2 separate regions of the Homo sapiens genome follow, and region 1 is linked to region 2. Evidence: promoter capture Hi-C in 16 types of primary human blood cells and fetal thymus (Javierre and others, 2016). All regions are on one chromosome and are shown on one strand. The core of a region is centred on a gene start or on the middle of the fragment in contact, and the rest is flanking DNA. Distances in the headings are between cores, read along the strand shown.

Evidence for each region. The method cuts DNA at HindIII sites, captures the fragments that hold promoters and counts their contacts. A CHiCAGO score of 5 or more calls a contact.
Region 1: a fragment that was not itself captured here is called in contact with the fragment with the promoter of SEMA4G in region 2 in 1 of 17 cell types (fetal thymus); the score reaches 5.5 in fetal thymus.

What each region holds. Positions count from the first base shown.
Region 1 is chr10:100,558,453-100,564,108 of GRCh38, forward strand. It overlaps HIF1AN (hypoxia inducible factor 1 subunit alpha inhibitor), which reads left to right. Exons shown (of 8, transcript NM_017902.3): 8 at 1-1,546. Among named protein-coding and RNA genes, the nearest start is that of HIF1AN, 25 kb to the left of the region's middle. RefSeq lists enhancers at 3,457-4,095, 3,854-3,933, 4,044-4,093, 4,096-4,733. The HindIII fragment of the contact is 1,639 bases long and covers 922-2,560 here.
Region 2 is chr10:100,966,133-100,971,256 of GRCh38, forward strand. SEMA4G (semaphorin 4G) reads left to right here and starts at 3,372. Exons shown (of 15, transcript NM_017893.4): 1 at 3,372-3,459. RefSeq lists a silencer at 3,329-3,388. The HindIII fragment of the contact is 3,455 bases long and covers 1,772-5,124 here.

The DNA.
Region 1 (5,656 bases), core at 491-2,990, 410 kb before region 2:
TTAAGAGCAGTGGTTCACCTAGAAATAAAAAGCAGAAATCATCAAGATGAGAAGACATTTTGTGTTTTGACAGCCAAGGAAATTTGCCACTGAGACAAGGTATCTGACAGCCTAGATGGGATTCTAGACTTCTGTGAGAAAGTGCAGTTAGGCCCTGAATAGCGTCAAACTCAGGGATGTGAGCTGACTGACTGCCTTTTTATGTAATGGAGGCCATGTGATAGGGCTTTATGAGGCCACAAATAGCACTTTCTGGGTCCTTTCACAGTCTAGTCAGTGGCCCAACCAACATATCTGGTTGTTCTGCAATCTCAGTCATCTGAGAAGATAACCTCCAAAATACATGCAGTGGCATCAGGTGTTTCCTTGGTAGGTGTGCATCTTTTAATGATGGAGGACTTAGGATGAAGAACAGGTGTGTTTAAAAACATCAAACCCCCACATCATTACTATTTGCTGTAAGGATCTATGCAGTTTGTATTTTAAGTCCTTGACATATGGAAGAGCATTTGTGAGAGTAACAGGTTTGCTTTGTAATGCCAACTAAAAAGTGTGTATTTATACTCGAATTTTAAGTTGAAATTTTGCTAAGTTTCTTTTTTTTTTTTTTGAGACGGAGTCTCACTCTGTTGCCCAGGCTGGAGTACAGTGGTACAATCATTGCTAAGTCTTTCTGTAGTTTTAGAACATTTAGAACAACTTAAGATTTCCTGTATTTATAAACTTAATTTATTGGAAATATAAGTACTTGATCAGGTTTTGTCTTGGTCAGATAAATTAAGTACTTAAGGAAATCAAATACATTAATCATATAAATGCCATTTAAGTGTTTAAAGGAGTTTAGTTAAATGTAAGTTGGATCAAACATTAAACTTTTTTGTTTTATAAGCAAAATAATAAGATTTGTTAGCAGAACTTAAAAGCTTAGAAAAGAGAGGATTTTGGATATGTAACTTTGAAGAGGTGAATAGTTTGCTCTTTTCTGAGACAGGGCATTGCTTTTCGACGCAGGCTGGAGTGCAGTGGGGCAAGCATGGCTCACTGCAGCCTCAACCTCCTGGACTCAAGTGATCCTCCTGCCTCAGCCTCCCATGTAGCTGGGATCACAGGCACATGCCACCACACCTGGCTAATTTTTTATTTTTTGTAGAGACAGGGGCCTCACTTCATTGCCCAGGCGGATCTCGAACACCTGGGCTCAAGCAGTCCTGCCTCAGCCTCCCAAAGTTCTGGGATTACAGGCATAAGCCACTGTGCCTGGCCTTGAATATATTTTTTAACCAAAGTAATTTATGAATATAAATTGTTTCTATATAACCCAAAGTCACTCTCATTGACATTAAGAAACTCAGAGAGTGGGTTCTAAATGTAATATTACCACACACCCAAGTCACTTAGCCTCTACAAGTACCACGTAACTAGCAGCCGTTAAAAGATGGCCACCGCTAGTCCAGTCGGCCACAGACATGGTTTTGTTTGGCCAATACAAGTTTTTGAAAGTTTTAAAAAATTGACAACATTAAAGATCAGAAACTTGACCTAAAAAGATTTCTCTCTTTGGAAAATCAGATCTGGCAGTAATGAAATCGCCTTTCCCATGTGACAGCAGTTGGCTGGAGCTGAAGAGCAACTGCCCCCTTGGCTGTGTTCCTTTCAGTTTGTCAATCTCCACTCTTCACTGTTGTACCCTAGATCTCACTCACGTGACCTGTCTGGCCCACATAGATATTTGAGGGTATGGCCCTGAACTTGAGGCACTCTGGAGTTGCTAACAACTGATGCTGGGCAGCCTAGAATAAGGGCTCAGGAAAAGTGTAGGCCCTACCTCTCTCTGTTCACATCATTCCCCCCTCCAGCCAGGCTGTCTTCCCAGCTGACCTGGCTCCAGGACTGATTCCAACCCCTATAGCAACTGTGTAAGAAGTCCCCAGGCTCAGGCTTCTCAGTGTTCACTGCTCTTGTCTGTGACCAGGCACTTTGCCTAGGCTCTGACCTCATGTCTCAGTCCTTTTGAACATTCTGGTCACCTGCCTAGTTTGACCGCAGCCTGACTTTGGTCTGTGAGGGGTCCTGGGCTCTCTGCTTTATGCAGCCACCATATCTGATCTTTGTGATGTGGTTGTGAATCTTCTGCTTCTATCTCCACCATCACTGTCCACTGCTTGGGCAATATGGTTGCTCAGCTGAGAGATTGGCAGCCCAGATTGCTAAAGGCTTAGGAGACATGAAAGGTGAGTTTGGAAGTGTTTGGATTTTCAAAAGAAGGACAGAGGCAGAAGCCAACCACAGTTTAAGGGGGCAGCTAGTAGAGAGCTTTTTAGGCAAGGGAGGCCACTGCACATTTATAGGCAGAGAAGGTGGCAGGACAGAGAATTTAAGAGAATGAGGTCTCAGAGGAGGCATAGGATGATGGGATATGAAATAGCAAAGGCACACCCAAGGTGATCCTGAAGCTCAGAAATATTAAGTCATGCAGGAGGGGGCACCATTGGAAATATAATCCCCTAAAGTTATGAGTAAACAAATGATGGTGGGGTGTGGAGGGTAGAAAGAAGGCCTAAGCTTGATGTGGGGGCCACAGCCTGGGCAAGAGAAATTTCCAGCAAAGCCTCTGACAAATTTCTGACAAAGCCTCTCATGTTATCTAGTTGTGGCAGAAGCATCTGAACCAAATGGCTAGGAAGCTTGGTGAACAGTCAGACCCAGTGAGGGTTGATTAATGGATCCATGTCAGCCTAGACTAGAGGGAAGTCTCCAGCAGTATGCCTTAGGGCTCAGTCTGGGCCTGTGTCCTCTCTGACATTTTTATTGACAACTGACCGAAGCAGCAGGCTCATCAAGTTTGCAGGTGATAGAGCTAGGAGGGGCAGTTAATACTTTGCATGAAAGAGTCAGGATTCAAAACGATTTCAACAGGCTGGAACACTGGGCTGGAACCAACAAGATTAAACTTAACAGGGATAAATGTAGAGTCCTGCACTTAGGTTAAAACAAAATCAATGACATAAGTACCGGTTGTAGGGGTTGGCCCAGCTTGACAGCAGTTCATGAAGAAAAGACCTGGGGGGTTTAGTTGACTGCAAGCTCAATATGAGTCAACTGTGTGATGTGACTGCTAAAATCCTAACACAGCCATGAATTGCATTAACCAAACGGAGCAGCCAGATCAAGGGAGGTGTTACCCCACTGCTTTCTGAGATGGTCAGGCCACCTCTGAGCACTGGGTCCAATTCTGAGGTCTTTTCCCCTGCTAAGGTCAGTGACAAATGAGAATATTTTTGATAGGAAGCCACCATGGCAGTGGGCCTGAATACTGTCCGAGACTTGCCAGTGATTCTATGGTGCTGAAATTTCTGGAATGAAGGACAGGAGTCTAGAATCTGAACCCAGGCAAAGACTTTTATCTGGAGCATATTTCTAGGATTTAGGGGAAAATTTGGGGTCTGCATTTCCTCACTTCCTATGGCTGCCCAGAGGCATTGGCCTGTGACTCTCATCCCTGGCCTTCCTGAGGTCAGGGGATTAGCGATTAGTTAGACGGGGTCTAGGGTAGAGGTCAGCCTGAGGGGGCGGCTATAAAACGAGTCATTGAGGTGGGAGGGAACCTGGAAATTGGGACCTCACGCACCATATTTCCCGCGCTCTCCCCTGGGACGTGCCGTCCCTGCTGCAGTCGCAGCGTGGCGCCCTCGCTCCACGCAGGGATCCTGAGCCAATGGCGGAAGCGGAGTGCGCGGCGAGGTCGCAGTTGCGTTTCTCGCACTCCCCACTGCGGGGAGCCCGTGGGCCCCGCACTGCAGGGAAGCTGCCGGCCCAGGTCTCCTGGGTGGCAAGAAGACGCCTGTGGTGTGGAAGAACCTCGCCCGCAGCCCAGCACGTGTAGAATCCAGATGTGGCTTCTGCTGGAGCCACGTGTTCCGGCCTGAGCGACGTCGCACGTGGCCTCCTGGCCGCAGAGCCCATGGCGCGGGGGGCCACTCTTCTGACGCAAGGGTCTGTGGGGCCGCGCAAGAGCCTGGGGCCCCCGACCTTCCGCCGACTGGCCGTGGGCTGGCCGCAGCCCAGCTCGGCTCTGTCTCGAGTTCCTTCGCTGTTCAAAGCAGAGTGGCGGCCACGTTCGGGGGCACTGGGGCGAGGGGTCGGGCGTCGGACGGGGCCCTGGGTCTGTACCGTTTCGGGCTCGCCGGAGGGGCTGCAGGCAGGGCGGGTTTCGGGTTCCACCGCCAGAATAATTCGGCAGTTCTGGATGGGGCCCAGGAATTTGTATTTGTGACCAGTTTCCCAGGTGAGTCTGAGGTCCGTGGTCCTCTGACCTCGTTTAGGGATGAGATCTAGTCCTCAGAGCCCGGGGCGGGGCTGCCGAGGACACCGGCTTGCTCTTCAGGCAGCTCTGGCCCGGGTGGCGGGAGGAGGCGGCCGGGGCTGGGATCCGGGCGCACCCTGGAAGCTCCAGATGGGCGTTGGAGACCTAGGGCGAGATGAACCGAGGACCGTCCATGTGTGTGGGTGCCGCTCAGGAGCGGGGAGGTGGGGGTGTGGGTGGACGGGCGTGTTGAGGGTGATGGATTGCTGCAGGGAGTGGACTCAGCCTACTGGGAGGAGTGGGAGAGGGGAAAGAACTGGAGGAACGGCGGAGTCCGTTGGCCTTTTCTTGGAGAGCTGGAGATGGAGGTTGGTTCTGTCCTGATGGGGGCAGGAGGACGGGTAATGGAGGCTGCCATGCTCAGTGAAGCCCCATGGGGGCAGCCATGCTTTGTGGTTTGTGGTGAGGCACTGAGCCCCAGGATACTGACTATTCCCTTTTTTGGAGAAAGAGGGGAAGAGGATGCTCCTTAAGAGCTTCTAGGGGAACGTTTCTGCCTCCAGGGGGTTTAGGTGAACTGTGTGTGTGTGTGTGTGTGTGTGTGTGTGTGTGTGTGTGTGTGTGTGTGTAGGTTAGCATATTGGAGATTTTCAAGGGAGTTCGTCTCCAGGACACTTCCCTCACCCCTACATCCACACACAGTATCTTATGATCCTCTTGGTTTCTCTTGGGCCTCAACTCCCCAAAAGGGGGGCACTCTTGTCAGCAGCTCACAAACATGTGGATATCTGCTAACTGAAGACACTCTGAAGACTTTCCCAGAGGAACGTTATAGAAGGAACCCTCAAATTCCAAATCCTTGAATATTGGAGCTGGAAGAGAACTTACAAACCATCTGATGCTGTCTTCCCCAGCTTGGTCTTGGAGAGTAGACACCTTAAGTGAAGGCCGAGCTTCGTAAGCCTCTGAGGATCCCAGTACCTGGTGTGGAGACAGGACTTGTGCATTGCCTAGAGAAGGGAGAGACACAGCAGAGTCAAGCGGTGGGTGGTGAGCTTTGATGGTGAACACCTGGGAGCTCAGAGGTGGGTAGGAGCCTATAAAAGAAGGCCCCTTGAAGGAGGGAAGCTAGAGCTGCATCTTTAAATGGGGAAAATTTATCTTTTGTGTTTTTCCCCCTGATTATGAATTTATGAAAATGAAGAAAAAATATATTGGGGCCGGGTGTGGTGGCTCACACCTGTAATCCCAGCACTTTGGGAAGCCAAGGCAGGCAGATCACTTGTGGCCAGGAGTTTGAGACCAGCCTGGCCAGCATGGTGAAACCCTGTCTCTACTGAAAATACAAAAATT
Region 2 (5,124 bases), core at 2,122-4,621:
ACTCAGCAAATGCTTGCTGCTCTAACGAGGCGTTTCTCTGATGACAGATTTGATCTTAAGCAGACACCTCAGGGTGTACTGACATCTGAGCAAACCATATCTCCAAAAATTATAGTTGTAAGTGTGCCCTATTTCTTTGGATACCGGGAGCTGGAGCTTCTCTGTCCAGCTATCTCTGCTGATTTTTTTTAATTAAAATTTTCACTTTTTAAAAGCCAGCATGCTAAAGCTGAGAAATTGGTGATGGGTGGTGGTTTTCCAGCATTTGTGGGAATGTCCTGACACTCCCTTTCCCTTACTAACCATTCCCTAGGCTGGAGTCAAGAGAGGGCAAACCAGAAGGCCCAGCTTTGGGTCTGACTCCAAGACGACTGGCTGGGAGGAAAACTAAACAGGCTTCTGAGGCACAGTGGAATAGTGAGACTTCCGCATTGTTGCACTGGTGACAGCCCCTACAGAAGAAGCACCTCAGCTGTATATATAGCCAAAATAAAGACCACACCACCTAAAGGGAAAGTGCTGGGCAAACCAGAGATGGAGATGGCAAAGCAGGAACAGAAATGCTGCCACATTGAACAGTAAGCAGGACAACTTGACTAGGCCAGAGTTCTCTTGCTTCAGGGAACCTGCTCAAGTTTCAGGAATTCATACCCACCCCCTTCACCTAGGATCCCTGCTACAGTAAGTAACTGTTCTGTGCAAAGTGGAGCTAAACTCTGGTGTGTAAGTGGCTGACAATCACTGCTGAAGACGGCCAGCACTACCCTCAGCCACTTTCTTACAGCAAAGTTGGGGAAAATAGACTAGCAAAAACAAAACTCATACTTTTCTGTGTGTGTGAAGTTCTCCAGAAGGTTTCCAAATGGAATCCTCTCACAGCCACCCTGCGAAGCAGCCAGGGTAGTGACCTTATGGATGAGTGACAGCCTGTTCAAAGAATGACCTGCCTGTGTCCCAGGATGCAGATTTATGGCTGGGTTAGGGTTAATTTCTTTAGTTGATTTCCAGTTTTCTTTTCCACTGTCTGTCAGTATTCCCCCGTTCTTATTTTACCAGCTGGATTTGCAGAGAGACATACTGTCAATCAAAAGGGCTTCCTATGGGCAGCTCCATTAATTGCTTTTACATCTGATACTCTCATTAGGTTTAGAGATTTTACTGGGAGGCTAGCAGAAGGAAATGGATTGTGGTCTGCTATCAAAAGTACTGAAGTAACTGCCCAGTGATCATTGAAATCACACATTTTGCTCATTTAACAATGTCTGAGTTTGCCATCAGCACCTCAGAGGAGCAAAGCTTGGTTCATAAAGTGAAGTTGAGTGATACTGAGCCTACCACACTGGCCTACTCGCCACCTCCAGAGCTATCTGAAGTCAGCACTGCAGGTTCTGTGAACATTTGGGAAGCTGTGCCTCTTAGCCCCCTGGGCCCCTACAGTTTAATTGCTCTCCTATCTGCTACTGAAGGACCAGCAGTCTTCCTACCCTGCCTCCACTGTTACCACCAACCCACTTTTTGATAAGGACTGCAGATTTATCTTTCTTAGCCCTGCCTTGACTGGTCTTCCCACCTCAGACGTCCTTACTCAGTCCATCATCTCTTTCAGGATTTTCTTCTGTGGTCTTTTTCAAACTACTAGCTGACTTTTCCCTTTTATTTCCCACTAGGAACCCCTCCCCGCCCCCCCCCCCCCCCCAGCCATTTCATCAAATCAAACTCACTGCCCTCTTTCATGCCCCTTCCTTAGTTCCCCAACACAAGCCTGTGCATAAGCTTGAACATTTCTACCTTTGCCAATGGTATTTCCCCTTCTGGCTTACCCTGCTTCCTCCTTCTCAGACTTTTCCAGTCTTGATTGTCCTCTCCATAAACACAAGAATGAACTTCAAGGCAAGTTACTTAATGTCTTAGAGCCTGTTTCCCCATCCATAAAATGGGGCTATAAATTCCTCAGGATGGGATGAGGGTACAAATAAAAAATGAAGCAGGATATTCTTTGTAAAAGTGTGTGTACATTTTTTATTGTGTTTCTCCCCAGCTACCTTCCCTCTCCCCGCCACACACATCCTATTTGCAGAGTGTTGGGGGAGGTGGAACTGTGATGTGGGCCCTGCTGTCTAGCAGTCTGCAGTCACACACAGCCATCCAAACTACGAGATTGTATATGATTCAGTGCCAAACTGTGAGCTTTGGGGAATCCAGAAAGAAGGATGAAGCCTTTCCCAAGTTTCCTTTAGTTAAATGTGCCACTTGAATCCTGTTCTGACTCCTAGGCACATGCAAGAGTCAATCACATATGTTCCTGTGGCCTTTATCATTTTGGTCCATCTCTTGAGCCCACATGAATACTGTCATGGATGGAGGAGGAAGGACCAGGCTGGGTCAGGGCCTGAATGCAGGTTTTGTTTGGACTATAGGGGCTAAGTTCACTTTAATAGGCTGTGACCTATTAAAGGAGGCAGGAACCAAGTTTGCACAGAAGGACCATCCTAGTTGAGTTAAAGGAGTTGGGGAGTTGATTGTGAGGGGTTTCCTAGATTGCTGCTGGGTAAGGTGATTGAATCTGGGAAGGATAGGGTACTTGATTGCCTAGAAGGGTGCACTCTAAGTTCTGGATAAGAATGGTGCCCAAGATGAGCTGGAGGGGAAGGCAAGTGTTTGAATGACCCAGTCCCTGAGGTGAGCCTAGGTTAGGGTTAAGATTTGGTGAGTGAACAGGTGCAAACGCTTGTGGCTTATTTATCCAGAAAAAGCATTTTCTGTGTGCCTTTCAGGTCAGGCTGTTACTTTATCCCCTTCAGGCCTGACCCCATCTCCCCCACGCATAGCTCAAGCTGAACAGCCCCTGAAGCTGGGAATCAAGCCCCTACCTTGTGTTCAGAGCTTCCCTAACGTCCAGTCGCCACCTAGGGTAGCCTTCCCTCCACACCCTAGGCCGAGAGCAGAAGCGGGTGGCAGGAGCACAGGGAGTGAGGTCCAGGTTAGAGGACAGGCCAGAAGGCCCTCCGAGAGGGTCCCCCAACCCCGCAACGCCAGGACAGGTTTGCACGTCCCCAGCAGTAGGCAAGTCAGGGGGGTCCTAGGGTTACAGCGGAGGAGAGGACGGGCTATAAGCATGTGGAGGGTGCACGGGGTGGCGAGGCCACCACCAGGGGGCGATTTCAGGGCCGCAGCGCCTAGAGGTGGGGGGTCGCCCGATGGCCGAAGGCTGTGTGTGAGCCTCGCCCTCAAACCGCCTCTATTGTGCTAGAGTAGGGGGCGCAAAGAAGAGAGTGGCGACCTTCCCCTCACCCCACCCAGTCGGCCCCGCCTTTCAGGACCCCGCCCCACCCCCGGCTCCGCCTCCACCACCCCCCCCCCGCCCCGCCTCCAGCCGCGGCCCCTTCCTCTCGCAGCTGGTGCTGTGGGGCCGCGGAGCCGCGCGTCGCTGTCTCTATGGCCCCGGATCCGAGCGCAAAGGTGAGCAAGGCGAGGAGTGCGGGCGGCGCCCTGGCGTGAGCCTGGGGCTGCGGGCCGGGGGTCGGGCAAGGCCTCCCCCACGTCCATTCTACCCTCCAAGCTGGGCCAGGCCTTTCTCACCACCAAGTCCCCCGGTCCTGCATGACGGCTCTAGAGGGGCGCGGGCCAGGCCTCGGGCTGCGCGGGGTGCAAACCGGCCACCACGGAGTCGGGGACCAGCGCGGGGAGGGGGCCGCGTGGCGAACAGTGTTCCCCAGGATCTGGGTCACGTCTCCCGGCGTCCGGCGGGATCGAAGGAGAGCTTGTCCTCGAGCTGCAGCAGTAGAGACTGAGGTTAGACCTGACGAAGGGAGAGGACCGCGGACTGTCCAGGATGTTGGAGGGAGGGGGTCCCGGGGGAGGGGCTCTCTCAAGCCAGGAGAGACCGCCATCCTACTAGGCAGAGGGAAATACCGCCTACACTAGGCAGGTGGACATCTGGGATGAAGGTCGAGAGCCTGCTGATCCTCCATTGATCCTGTTTGAAGGGTCTCTCCTCCCCAGTTCCCTCCACCCCAAGATCTAATAGAGGAAAGGTGATCAGAGTTCAGGGGGCTGGCCCTGGGGAAGAACCCGAACTGTGGAACTTGGGGTGGAGTGTGGGGCGTGGACTGGAGACCTTAAACCCGTACTTCGCCACTGAAGGGAGGGGTGATATGCTCCGCCCCGCCCACTTAGCCCCGCCCCCTCCCACAGGTTAAGTGGGGGCTGAGAGCTCCAGCCCGTCTCCCACCTTTAGAACCGCAATATACATAGGGGTGGAGGAGTACTAAATTATGCGTTCCATTCCATCTTTGCTGAAGCTAGGGGCCTCCTCCTGCCTGAGTTACTTTCCCATTCCCTCCCTTGTAGAGCGGCCTTGACTCATGCACCCATCCCATCTGCCCATCCAAGGTCAGAAGCCTCCCCCATCACCACACACACACACACACACAACCCCCTCACCACCCCCACACACAAACACACACTTGAAATTGGGCCTTAGAATTGGGACTTTCAGGAACAGAGGCAGGGTTCTGCTCTGCATCTCACCCCAGTGGACACTGGCAGCCTCCAAGCCTATGGCAAAAACTGGACCCCTGTATGCATGTGTGCTTGTCTCTGCATGGATGTAGTTGTGTGTTCAAGAACTGCGTGTGAGCACACATGTACTTGACCCTTCTGTGAACATGATTGCCTGGCCCACTATATCAATGGGTTTGTGTGCATGTCCCTACACATACATGTGTATGTATAGGACCCTCCTGTTGAATAGGTGCACAGTCCTTGACACAAACCCACATGTGTGGGTTTATCTCTCCTCAATGTCTGAGGCTGTGTGACCTGCTGAATGGATGGGCATGTAAATTCAACGTCACATGTGAATATGTATGATTACCTGTGGCTGTGGCCCTCTGTATGAGCATATGTGTGCACAAAACTCCCTGTGAGTATATGTGTGAATGACCCCTGTGAATCCACGTGTTCACAGTCCTCCTTGTGAACATGTGTGTGTGTGTGTGTGTGCACCCATGTGCATGTATATCACCTTCCTAATAGTCACCCATGTGACTCTTAAACTATAAGTGTGACATGCACCACACTGAGTGGCTCCTCTAACCTGGGGCATGTTCCTCCTAGCCATAG